Regions from separate parts of the Homo sapiens genome. Here all the other regions are linked to region 1. The links are contacts of gene promoters, found by promoter capture Hi-C in human tissues and cell types (Jung and others, 2019). All regions are on one chromosome and are shown on one strand. The core of a region is centred on a gene start or on the middle of the fragment in contact, and the rest is flanking DNA. Distances in the headings are between cores, read along the strand shown.

Region 1 (3,170 bases), core at 383-2,882:
TGCGCCTCTCTTCCCATTCATCCCTCAAGGCACAAGTCCCCCCCGACCCCACCCCACCACGTTCCCCAGCCCAGGTTGGAGACTCACTGGGGATATAGAGGTCAGGGGCGTTGAGGTCTTGCCGGGGGGGCAGAGGAGCATCACGACTGTACTGCACTTCCCAGTTCTGGCAGTGGCAGTGGCAGCAGCGGCCACATCAGGAGGGGAAGAAGAGAAAAGAGGAGAGAAGGGGGTTGAGGTCTGGGGGCCAGACTCGGGCAGAATGAGGAAGGCCCACCAGCTCCCTTGGTAGGAAGCTCACCTGGTGTGTGTAGGGGAAGACCAGCAGCCCTAGCTTCTTGGCCACGTAGGCTGTGTCCACAGCAAAAAAATACTTGAGTTTGCTCACAGACACAAAACGGTGCAGCTGGGAGGGGAGAGAGGAAGCTGTGGGCAAGCCGCACCCCAGGCCTCAGGGTGCCCCTCTGTGTGCTCCATCCCTGAGGGCACTGTGAGGAATCGGGTGGAATCCCATGATGCCCCAGCCCTAGCCAAAAATTCTGCCACCCGTGCCCCGGGGGCAGGCCACACCTCCTTGTGCACCATGTCCTTCCCATGGGATGCGATGGAGCTGCCATAGGCCATAGCCACATTGGCCATTGGGTCCCCAAGCAAGTGGTTGACACTGAAGGCCACGTCTGCTCCTGTGGCTGGGTATCCCCCGGGCTGGCTGGAATAACCACCGCTTGTGTCATCGAAGAGGGGAGGGGGATCCGGGGCTGCCCGGGCCCTGTGCTTGGAGCCTGTGGGTTTGGAGGTATCAGAGTAGATGACAGAAATACCAAGCATGAGCCCAAACCACCGCCCCTTCCCTGGCTGGACAGCCCTGCACGGGTCCTGGAGGCACCGATCAGTGAGGGGACCCCAAGCTGGGTGAGGGGGAGCTAACTGAGAAAAAACTGTGATGAGGGATCCTTTGCGAGAAATCCGTTGCTAAATGTAGGCAAAGAAAGAGCTGAGGCAGCGCCTAGAACTGGTTGCCCACTTGGGGTTTCTGAAGGCCTCTCACTGGAAGTGACCTCTGAACTGAGCCACAGTGAGTAGAAGTGTGCTAGGTGAAAATAACTGGGAGGGCATCCTTCCGTGAACAAAGCTGGGAGAGGCGACAGCTGGCTACCTGGAGGCCCTGGACAGTGATCAGGGACCTCATCAGGTTCACAACAGTCAAAGGAGTTTCTGGAGGAGGAGGCGGACCCCGTTTTTGCCCGACTCCGGCATGGGATTCCCAGGACTGGGCCGAGAGGGCGAAGTCCGGGACGTGTTGGAGTGTTACGAGGGGCAGGAACCCGAGTGACACCCCCGCCCTGGGCGGCGGTCCCAGTCGCTATCTCCCTCGGGGTGAGCGGGCCACGCCGCCGACTCTCCCCCCGCCGGCCGCGCCGCGCCCCGCCCGCGCCCCACGCACCGTGGGCTCCGTAGCCCGAGTGATAAGCCATGGCCGCGACGCTCGCTGTCCCCGAGGGCCCGCTGCGCCGCCTCGTGGGTACGAATACTAATGAGGCAGCTGCTCCGCGCCCAGGGTACCGACCGAGGCCACCCGGCCGCGCGACACGTCCCCCACCCCGCCGGTCTCGGCCACCATGTCCGTGGCGTCATCCCCCGCGCCTGCCATTGGCTCTTCGGCGGCGCCGGCTCGCCCCTCCCCTCTCCCAATTGGCCACTGACGAGCTCTGGCCTGAGCGGATTCGGCAGAAGGCAACATCCGGGTGAGGGACAGGCGGAGCGACTTGCGGTGCCTGGGATTGGATCACGGGCTTGCCAGTTCACGGTGGGAACAGCCAATAGAAGAGTTAAGAAAGAAGGTGGGCGAGAATTATTTGCGCGCCTGCGCGGTGAGGCACTTGACGCACCCTGCCACGACTACACCAGGGAGTCGAGAGGTAACCTGCAGCCGGAGTCAGGAGCAAAGCTTCCTTGGTGGGACGTACTCCAGGAGGGAACGGGGCGGTCGAGTTCCAACCAAGCCCTGCCCTTCGGGGCGCCTGTTTCTCCCTCTCTGGGCTTGTTTTCCTCCCCCGTCACCTACACTTCACCCAATCTTGGAACGGAGCCCCGGCAGACCCGGAGGTGGTGGTGGGAGGCCGGACCTATCAGTGACAGAGCTGCCAAGCAAGCCCCAGGATGCTGACTCCACCCGCCTCCCACTCCTCTTCTCCGCGCGGGTGCTGTCCGTCGTCCGGTGCTGAAAATGTCCTCCCGCCTCAGCCGCCATCCTGTAGACTCCCGGGGGCCTGCGTATGGGAAGATTTGGGGTCTCGAACCACACGCTCCTAGCGAGCGCGTGGCCGCACGCACACATACACGCATACTGCAAAACTGGGGCCCAGAGGATCCGAAGTCTGAGAGATTGGGTGGTATAGGTGGGGCAGGATCCTGCCCCGGGCCTGTCCCATAGACTCTCCCGTAGTCCAGCAGATTTGGGGGCAGAGGTGTGCTGATTTGCGTCCTGAAGCTGCAGCCTAAACTCCTGAGTCATCGCCGGGCCTGTGGTCTTCTTGAAGTGAGGCCCCTAAGCCTCACTTGTAGTCCCGGGGGTTCCTTTCTCTCCACCCAGGTTCTGATCACTCCCAACCCCGCGGAGACAGTCTTCAGGGGCCTCCCTCTCACAGACCTTCAGCCACCGCTTTCTAGAGAGCATGAGCAGGTTCTCTGCGACCTCTCTAATTAGCTACCAGGTATCCAGTTACACCAGATGACCTTCCTGCTCCCCAAACTCAGCCCACGTGGTCTGATTGCAGTGCCATTGCCCAGAGGTCCCCTCCACCTGGGATGCCCTTCCCCCTCATATCCACTTGTCCATAAGCCTAGTTATCTTTAAGAGTTAGTTCATCTCGTGCCTCTCAGAGGGACAAAGGGGACAGAGACCTGACCCGGTCAGGGGTGGAGGTCATAGGTTGGGTTCTAGGCCCCCTCTGGGTGCACCCAATTTGCCCTGCATGTAAGTTCCATGAGGACAGGCCCTGTTGTCATTCTCCACTTCCACCCTTGTCTTCCCAGTGCCAAGCACAATACTTGCATATGGAAGACACCCAATAAACATCTGTGTCCAAGAAATTCATAATAAATAGATAAAACCCTGGACCAGTCCTTTCCTGTGTCCACATCTCAATTACCTAATCTTTAAGTGGGTA
Region 2 (3,170 bases), core at 233-2,732, 420 kb before region 1:
ATTTCCCCCTTGCAGGCCTCAGGGATGGTCAGACACTCGTTGACATCTGCAGAGAGGGGCCTGCTGGGCACAGCCAGTCTCCTGGGCTGGCCCTGGAGGGAGCGGAGGCAGGAACCCAGCTCGGCCTTCTCTGAGATGTGTGGCCCCAGCAAAGCCTTCCCACTCTGCTCAACAAGCTAAGTCTGCCTGCTCAGGACCCCTCCCCAGGGTTGGCCAAGGCTGGAGATGGGGCAGCTGTTCCCACTGTTGCCCTCATTCTCGGCCTGCAAGTGGGTCTCTATCCCTCCCCACGGCCCTAGCCCTAGCTCAGCCCAAGATGGGGGGCCTCCTTACCCACCCCTGGGGACGCTACCCTCCCAGGTTGTGATGAGACAAAGAGCTGGGACAGGAGAGTGGTTCAGAGAAGGCGTACAGGATCCAGCTCCTCTGAGGGGTAGGGACAAGGTTTCCTGGGTTTCTGGGAGAGGATGAGGCCACCCCTAGCTCAACTGGCCTCCAGAGAGCCAGAGCTGGCCTCTGTGTAGCAGAGCTGGGCATAGAACGGGCTGCTGGGCTCCCACGGCAGTTCTTGGAGGTGGGGCTGTCCCTTGGAAAGCAGCTATCAATCCCTTTCCGGGTTCCTGGGGGTGTTTGGTCCCCCAGGCACACACACCCCGGCAGTGCTGGCTGTCTGGGTCCCACTCATAGCCATCTGTGCATTCCTGGAAGGGAACCAGAAGTGGCCAGTGGTCACCCTAAGATCTCCTCCAACTGGCCAGGCCAAGACTAGGGCCTGAGCCTGGCCACCCTCCGGCCTGCTCCAAACAATGGCCCCCAGCTCTCCACCAGCCAGGGGAGGAAGACTTCCCCGGCAGCAGTCACCCTGGGTCCCGGTCTCTTCCTCCCTACCCTTCCTGTCCCAGGCCAGCGGCCCTCACTGTCCCCACCGTGTAGCTGTCGGGCTCTTCAGAATCCTGAGGAGAAGCTGATCCCAAGAGCAACAGTAGCAGCGCCCAGAGCAGTAGAGACCCGGGTAGGCAGGAGGCGCAGGGGAGCATCCTGGGGCTGCGAGATGGTGGACACGGGTCAGGGGCCTCTGCCCGCGGCACCTCAACTCCCTGTACCGGGAGCCCGAGCCCAGCCCCCGCCACTGCCCGCTCAGGACCGTGCTTGGGCCTCGGGGCCTCCCAGGGCTGGGGGCCGACTCCTCACAGGCCCAGGTCCCAGGCCCGGGTCCCAGGCCCACCCGCCCCGGCCACCCCGCCCCCGCCCCGCGCCCCTGCGGCGAAGGCCGAGGAGCGCGGGCCTCTGTGGGCGCTACGCTGCCGCGGACTCGGCCGAGACTCCGGCCCACGCCCTCCCCCACGGACGGTCACAGCCACTCACTTGGGCCCGCGACACCCCCGCGGCCCGCGGCTCTGGCGGCTCGGCTGGCTCGGGCAATGCCTGCGGGCAGACGGACGGGCGGACGGCACAGCTCCCTGGACGCGCGGCCCCAGGAAGCGCCCCCCGCCCGCCCGCCTGCCGCGGCGCGGCCCACCCCGGCGCCTCCGCCCGCCCTTCGGCGGATTCCTGAGCCAGCGCCAGGGGGAGGGACCCCGACCCCCCGCTTCTCCGCCCCCGGCCAGCCACAGGCCCCTACCCGGTCCCCCGCGGCGCCGCCAGGAGCCGCCTCCCGGCGCCGGACCAGGGTCCCCCAGTGCTCGATCCTGGGGCCCCGACCTTGATGCCAGGCCCCCAGACTCACCCGGGGGCCCCCAGACGCTCACCAAAAATGTCATCCTGCTCACCTAGGTCCTACCTAATCTGCGCCCCCAGAATTTCATCCTGTGCACCCACACCGTAATCCTGGAGCCCCCAGATTCTCATTGTGCGCCTCCCGAGATCGTCCTGGGTACCTAGAGCCCACCTAACCCAGTCCTCCAGACCCTCAATCTGCTCCCTGCAAAATTTTATTCTCTGCCCCAGACCGTCATTGTAAAAGATCCTAAAACTTCATCCAGGGTCCCCAGACCCTCGCCCAGGAACGAGAGGCTCCCAGGAGCAGAACTGTCCTTCTCGCTCCCTCCTGCCCTCCACCCCCAGGACCGTCTTCAGCCGGGTGGTCCTTTCACTACACACGGCCTCCCCCACACCCTCCATCCACAAAGCTACAAGTTTGGGGGCGAGGGCGGCAGTTCCCTTTTGGCACAAAATGAATGGAAGCCCCTGAGAAGGAGGGCAGGGCTGATGTCGGACGTGCGGGATGCCAGAGTCGGGTGCCAAGGCGCCTCCTCGACCTCCTCGCACCAGCGTCCCCCGCCCGGTTTCCGCCTCCGCCCGAAGTGGGGGCGTGTCCTTGGGGCGGAGTATGGGCGGGGCTGGCTCCCAGGAAGGGCGTGGCCTCTGTTTGCCCACGTCTTTGGGCGGGGCCAGGCGGGAAAGCACTGCGTGTCCGGGGATCCCCCGCCTGGGGCCCGCCCTTCCTTTCCCCTTGCCATCCCTGCTTATCCCCGCAGTCGCCCTCCACGTGACCCCGGGGAGGGAGTCTGCCGAGGAGGGGACGTGCTGGTGGGTCCCGCGGCGAGCGCCTGGGGCTCAGGTGAACTGCGCAGTGCCCGCTCCTCGCCACTCTGCCACCACCATCCCTCCCAGCTGCTGGGGCAGAAGGTTAAATAATAGCTCTTTAGGGGCCGGACGCGGTGGCTCAAGCCTGTAATCCCAGCACTTTGAGAGGCCGAGGCAGGTGGATCACCTGAGGTCAGGAGTTCGAGACCAGTCTGGACAACATGGTGAAACCCCGTCTCTACTAAAAATATAAAAATTAGCCAGGCGTGGTGGCGCGTGCCTGTAGTCGCAGCTACTCAGGAGCCTGAGGCAGGAGAATCACCTGAACTCGGGAGGTGGAGGTTGCAGAGAGCCCAGATCACACTGCTGCACTCCATGGGTGACAGAGGGAGACTCCATCTTAAAATAATAATAATAATAATAGGCCCGACGCGGTGGCTCACGCCTGTAACCCCAACACTTTGGGAGGCCAAGGTGGGCAGATCACAAGGTCAGGAGTTCAAGACCAGCCTGGCCAACATGGTGAAACCCTGTCTTTACAAAAACACAAAGAAATTAGCTGGTGTAGTGGCACGTGCCTCTAATCCCAGCTACTCGGGAGTCTGAGGCAGAATAATCTCTTAAACCCGGGAGGCAGTTGTTGC
Region 3 (3,170 bases), core at 497-2,996, 340 kb after region 1:
TGTACTTACAGGAGATGTGAAGATTTTTATCCTGTGTTGCAGTTCATCTTTGCTCCTTCTTCTCTCACCAGGAAGTTGGGTGAGATGGCAGGGTTTGTAAAGGGGAGAATGGGAAGAAGGCTGTAGGCAAAGATGACTGCTTGGGACAGTCAGAAGCTTTGTTATATGGGAGCTACATTTTATGACATACTCCTGGAGAGGAGGGTTTGGAGGCCTTGGAGGTAGCTGGCAACAGCTGGGTGCTGTTGTGTGTCCAATTTGGGACCCATCAGGTAGCATGCCCTGCCCCCCTAATTGCTAACCCTCTGTCTGCTGCTTTATCAGACTACGCGTTTGTTCACATGGAGAAGGAAGCAGATGCCAAAGCCGCAATCGCGCAGCTCAACGGCAAAGAAGTGAAGGGCAAGCGCATCAACGTGGAACTCTCCACCAAGGGTCAGAAGAAGGGGCCTGGCCTGGCTGTCCAGTCTGGGGACAAGACCAAGAAACCAGGGGCTGGGGATACGGCCTTCCCTGGAACTGGTGGCTTCTCTGCCACCTTCGACTACCAGCAGGCTTTTGGCAACAGCACTGGTGGCTTTGATGGGCAAGCCCGTCAGCCCACACCACCCTTCTTTGGTCGCGACCGCAGCCCTCTGCGCCGTTCACCTCCCCGAGCCTCTTATGTGGCTCCTCTGACGGCCCAGCCAGCTACCTACCGGGCCCAGCCGTCCGTGTCACTGGGAGCTGCCTACAGGGCCCAGCCTTCTGCCTCTTTGGGTGTTGGCTATCGGACTCAGCCCATGACAGCCCAGGCAGCCTCTTACCGCGCTCAGCCCTCTGTCTCCCTTGGGGCACCATACAGGGGCCAGCTGGCTAGTCCTAGCTCCCAGTCTGCTGCAGCTTCTTCACTCGGCCCATATGGTGGAGCCCAGCCCTCAGCCTCGGCCCTTTCCTCCTATGGGGGTCAGGCAGCTGCAGCTTCTTCGCTCAACTCCTATGGGGCTCAGGGTTCCTCCCTTGCCTCCTATGGTAACCAGCCATCCTCTTACGGCGCCCAGGCTGCCTCTTCCTATGGGGTTCGTGCAGCTGCTTCTTCCTACAACACCCAGGGAGCAGCTTCCTCCTTAGGCTCCTACGGGGCTCAGGCAGCCTCCTATGGGGCCCAGTCTGCAGCCTCCTCACTAGCTTATGGAGCCCAGGCAGCTTCATATAATGCCCAGCCCTCGGCCTCTTACAATGCCCAGTCTGCCCCATATGCTGCACAGCAGGCTGCTTCCTACTCTTCCCAACCTGCTGCCTATGTGGCACAGCCAGCCACAGCTGCTGCCTATGCCAGCCAGCCAGCAGCCTACGCCGCACAAGCCACTACCCCAATGGCTGGCTCCTATGGGGCCCAGCCGGTTGTGCAGACCCAGCTGAATAGTTACGGGGCCCAAGCATCAATGGGCCTTTCAGGCTCCTATGGGGCTCAGTCGGCTGCTGCGGCCACTGGCTCCTATGGTGCCGCAGCAGCCTACGGGGCCCAACCTTCTGCCACCCTGGCAGCTCCTTACCGCACTCAGTCATCAGCCTCATTGGCTGCTTCCTATGCTGCCCAGCAGCATCCCCAGGCTGCTGCCTCCTACCGCGGCCAGCCAGGCAATGCCTACGATGGGGCAGGTCAGCCGTCTGCAGCCTACCTGTCCATGTCCCAGGGGGCCGTTGCCAACGCCAACAGCACCCCGCCGCCCTATGAGCGTACCCGCCTCTCCCCACCCCGGGCCAGCTACGACGATCCCTACAAAAAGGCTGTCGCCATGTCGAAAAGGTACTGTATGCCCCCCCGCCTCTGCCCCCAGCTGGGGCTTAGGGCAAGGGGCTGAGGTTGGCATGGGAGGGAAACTGGAGGCATCGGCCCCTCCCTCGGTCTTCTCTTCTCTATTTTTGTGGGATGTCCAGAGGCCGAGGGGAGCAGTGTCTATGAACTTTCCTGGTCACCAGGGTTCAGGTGGAGCATAGTGCTCAGCCTGGGGTGGTACCTGCTAGTCAGGCCAGGCACAGTGTCACCTGTCTAGGCTAGCCCAAGTGTCATTGGAGCTACTGCCTGCAGGACTGTGGCCCATATCCTTTCCCACTGTCTCAAGGATCCTTAAGCCTATTACGTGGTTGTCCTGGCTTTGGCAGGGATGTGGGTTAAAGAGTAGTCCCTTTGGCATTCACTGGCTAAAGGCAAGTTTACGAGGTGCGTCCACTCTGGGAAGTTGGGGACCTCGCTTTCATCCGCCGTTCTGTTGATAAACAACCAAGGTCTTTCTCTGCAGGGCCCAGGGGCGGAGATAGTTTGCTGTGGTGTGGGAATGTAGACCAAAATCCACCTTGGCTAGTTCAGAGGGGAGGACTTCAGTGGAGGGTTTGATTTCCCACTGAGTTGAAGCCAGGCTTGATTTTTTTGGCCTGGATAGGGTGATGAGCCTTCTGACAAAAGGAGACCAATCTCTTGGAGACCACTGTGATCACACCCTCCCTGTCCCCATTGGCATCTCCCCAATGCCCACCTGGAGTCCTCCCCTCAATTGTCTCATTCACCAACTGTCTTCTTCTCTCGACTAGGTATGGTTCCGACCGGCGTTTAGCCGAGCTCTCTGATTACCGCCGTTTATCAGAGTCGCAGCTTTCGTTCCGCCGCTCGCCGACAAAGTCCTCGCTGGATTACCGTCGCCTGCCCGATGCCCATTCCGATTACGCACGCTATTCGGGCTCCTATAATGATTACCTGCGGGCGGCTCAGATGCACTCTGGCTACCAGCGCCGCATGTAGGGCCATCCTGGGATGGGGCACCACAGGGAGGGAGGGAGAAAAGAGGTGGGTAGGGTTACAGATCCAGGTTATAACTACTCTGGCCCATACCTTTCCTGGTTGTGGTTTTTCATGCCCTCTACCATGTGGGCCTTCCCCAGGAGATGATCCTGTTAAGTGTTCGGCAGTAACCTACTTTGTTCCTTCGCCTCAGCAGCAAATCTTGCTACTGGCTCTAGATCTGCGGTTTCCCCTCTACCCTGCCTCCCGTCTCCCCAGAATGGGAATTTCTTTTATGTTTTTATTTTTTTCCTGGCTCCCTTTTATTTTTGTGCGCGATATTTAAGGTCGTCTGGATGGGGAAGCAACCTGCAGCTGAGGTCGCCGGCGCCTTTTTCTTTTTAGATGGGAA

What was found. The method cuts DNA at HindIII sites, captures the fragments that hold promoters and counts their contacts. A contact is called where the count stands out against the background at its distance.
Region 2: a contact is called between the fragment with the promoter of EFEMP2 here and the fragment with the promoter of YIF1A in region 1, in 1 of the 25 tissues and cell types used here (spleen).
Region 3: a contact is called between a fragment that was not itself captured here and the fragment with the promoter of YIF1A in region 1, in 1 of the 25 tissues and cell types used here (hippocampus).

What each region holds. Positions count from the first base shown.
Region 1 is chr11:66,287,511-66,290,680 of GRCh38, forward strand. YIF1A (Yip1 interacting factor homolog A, membrane trafficking protein) reads right to left here and starts at 1,633. Exons shown (of 8, transcript NM_020470.3): 1 at 1,445-1,633; 2 at 571-782; 3 at 302-406; 4 at 88-166. The coding sequence starts at 1,475. RefSeq lists a silencer at 1,250-1,709 and enhancers at 1,648-1,942, 1,810-1,949. The HindIII fragment of the contact is 5,849 bases long and covers 1-3,170 here.
Region 2 is chr11:65,871,318-65,874,487 of GRCh38, forward strand. EFEMP2 (EGF containing fibulin extracellular matrix protein 2) reads right to left here and starts at 1,483. Exons shown (of 11, transcript NM_016938.5): 1 at 1,366-1,483; 2 at 927-1,044; 3 at 653-701; 4 at 1-46. The coding sequence starts at 1,037. RefSeq lists a silencer at 2,486-2,545. The HindIII fragment of the contact is 15,058 bases long and covers 1-3,170 here.
Region 3 is chr11:66,623,890-66,627,059 of GRCh38, forward strand. All of the region lies in intron 1 of RBM14-RBM4 (RBM14-RBM4 readthrough), which reads left to right. It overlaps RBM14 (RNA binding motif protein 14), which reads left to right. Exons shown (of 3, transcript NM_006328.4): 2 at 325-1,789; 3 at 2,572-3,170. The coding sequence ends at 2,779. Among named protein-coding and RNA genes, the nearest start is that of RBM14-RBM4, 8.8 kb to the left of the region's middle. The HindIII fragment of the contact is 7,128 bases long and covers 1-3,170 here.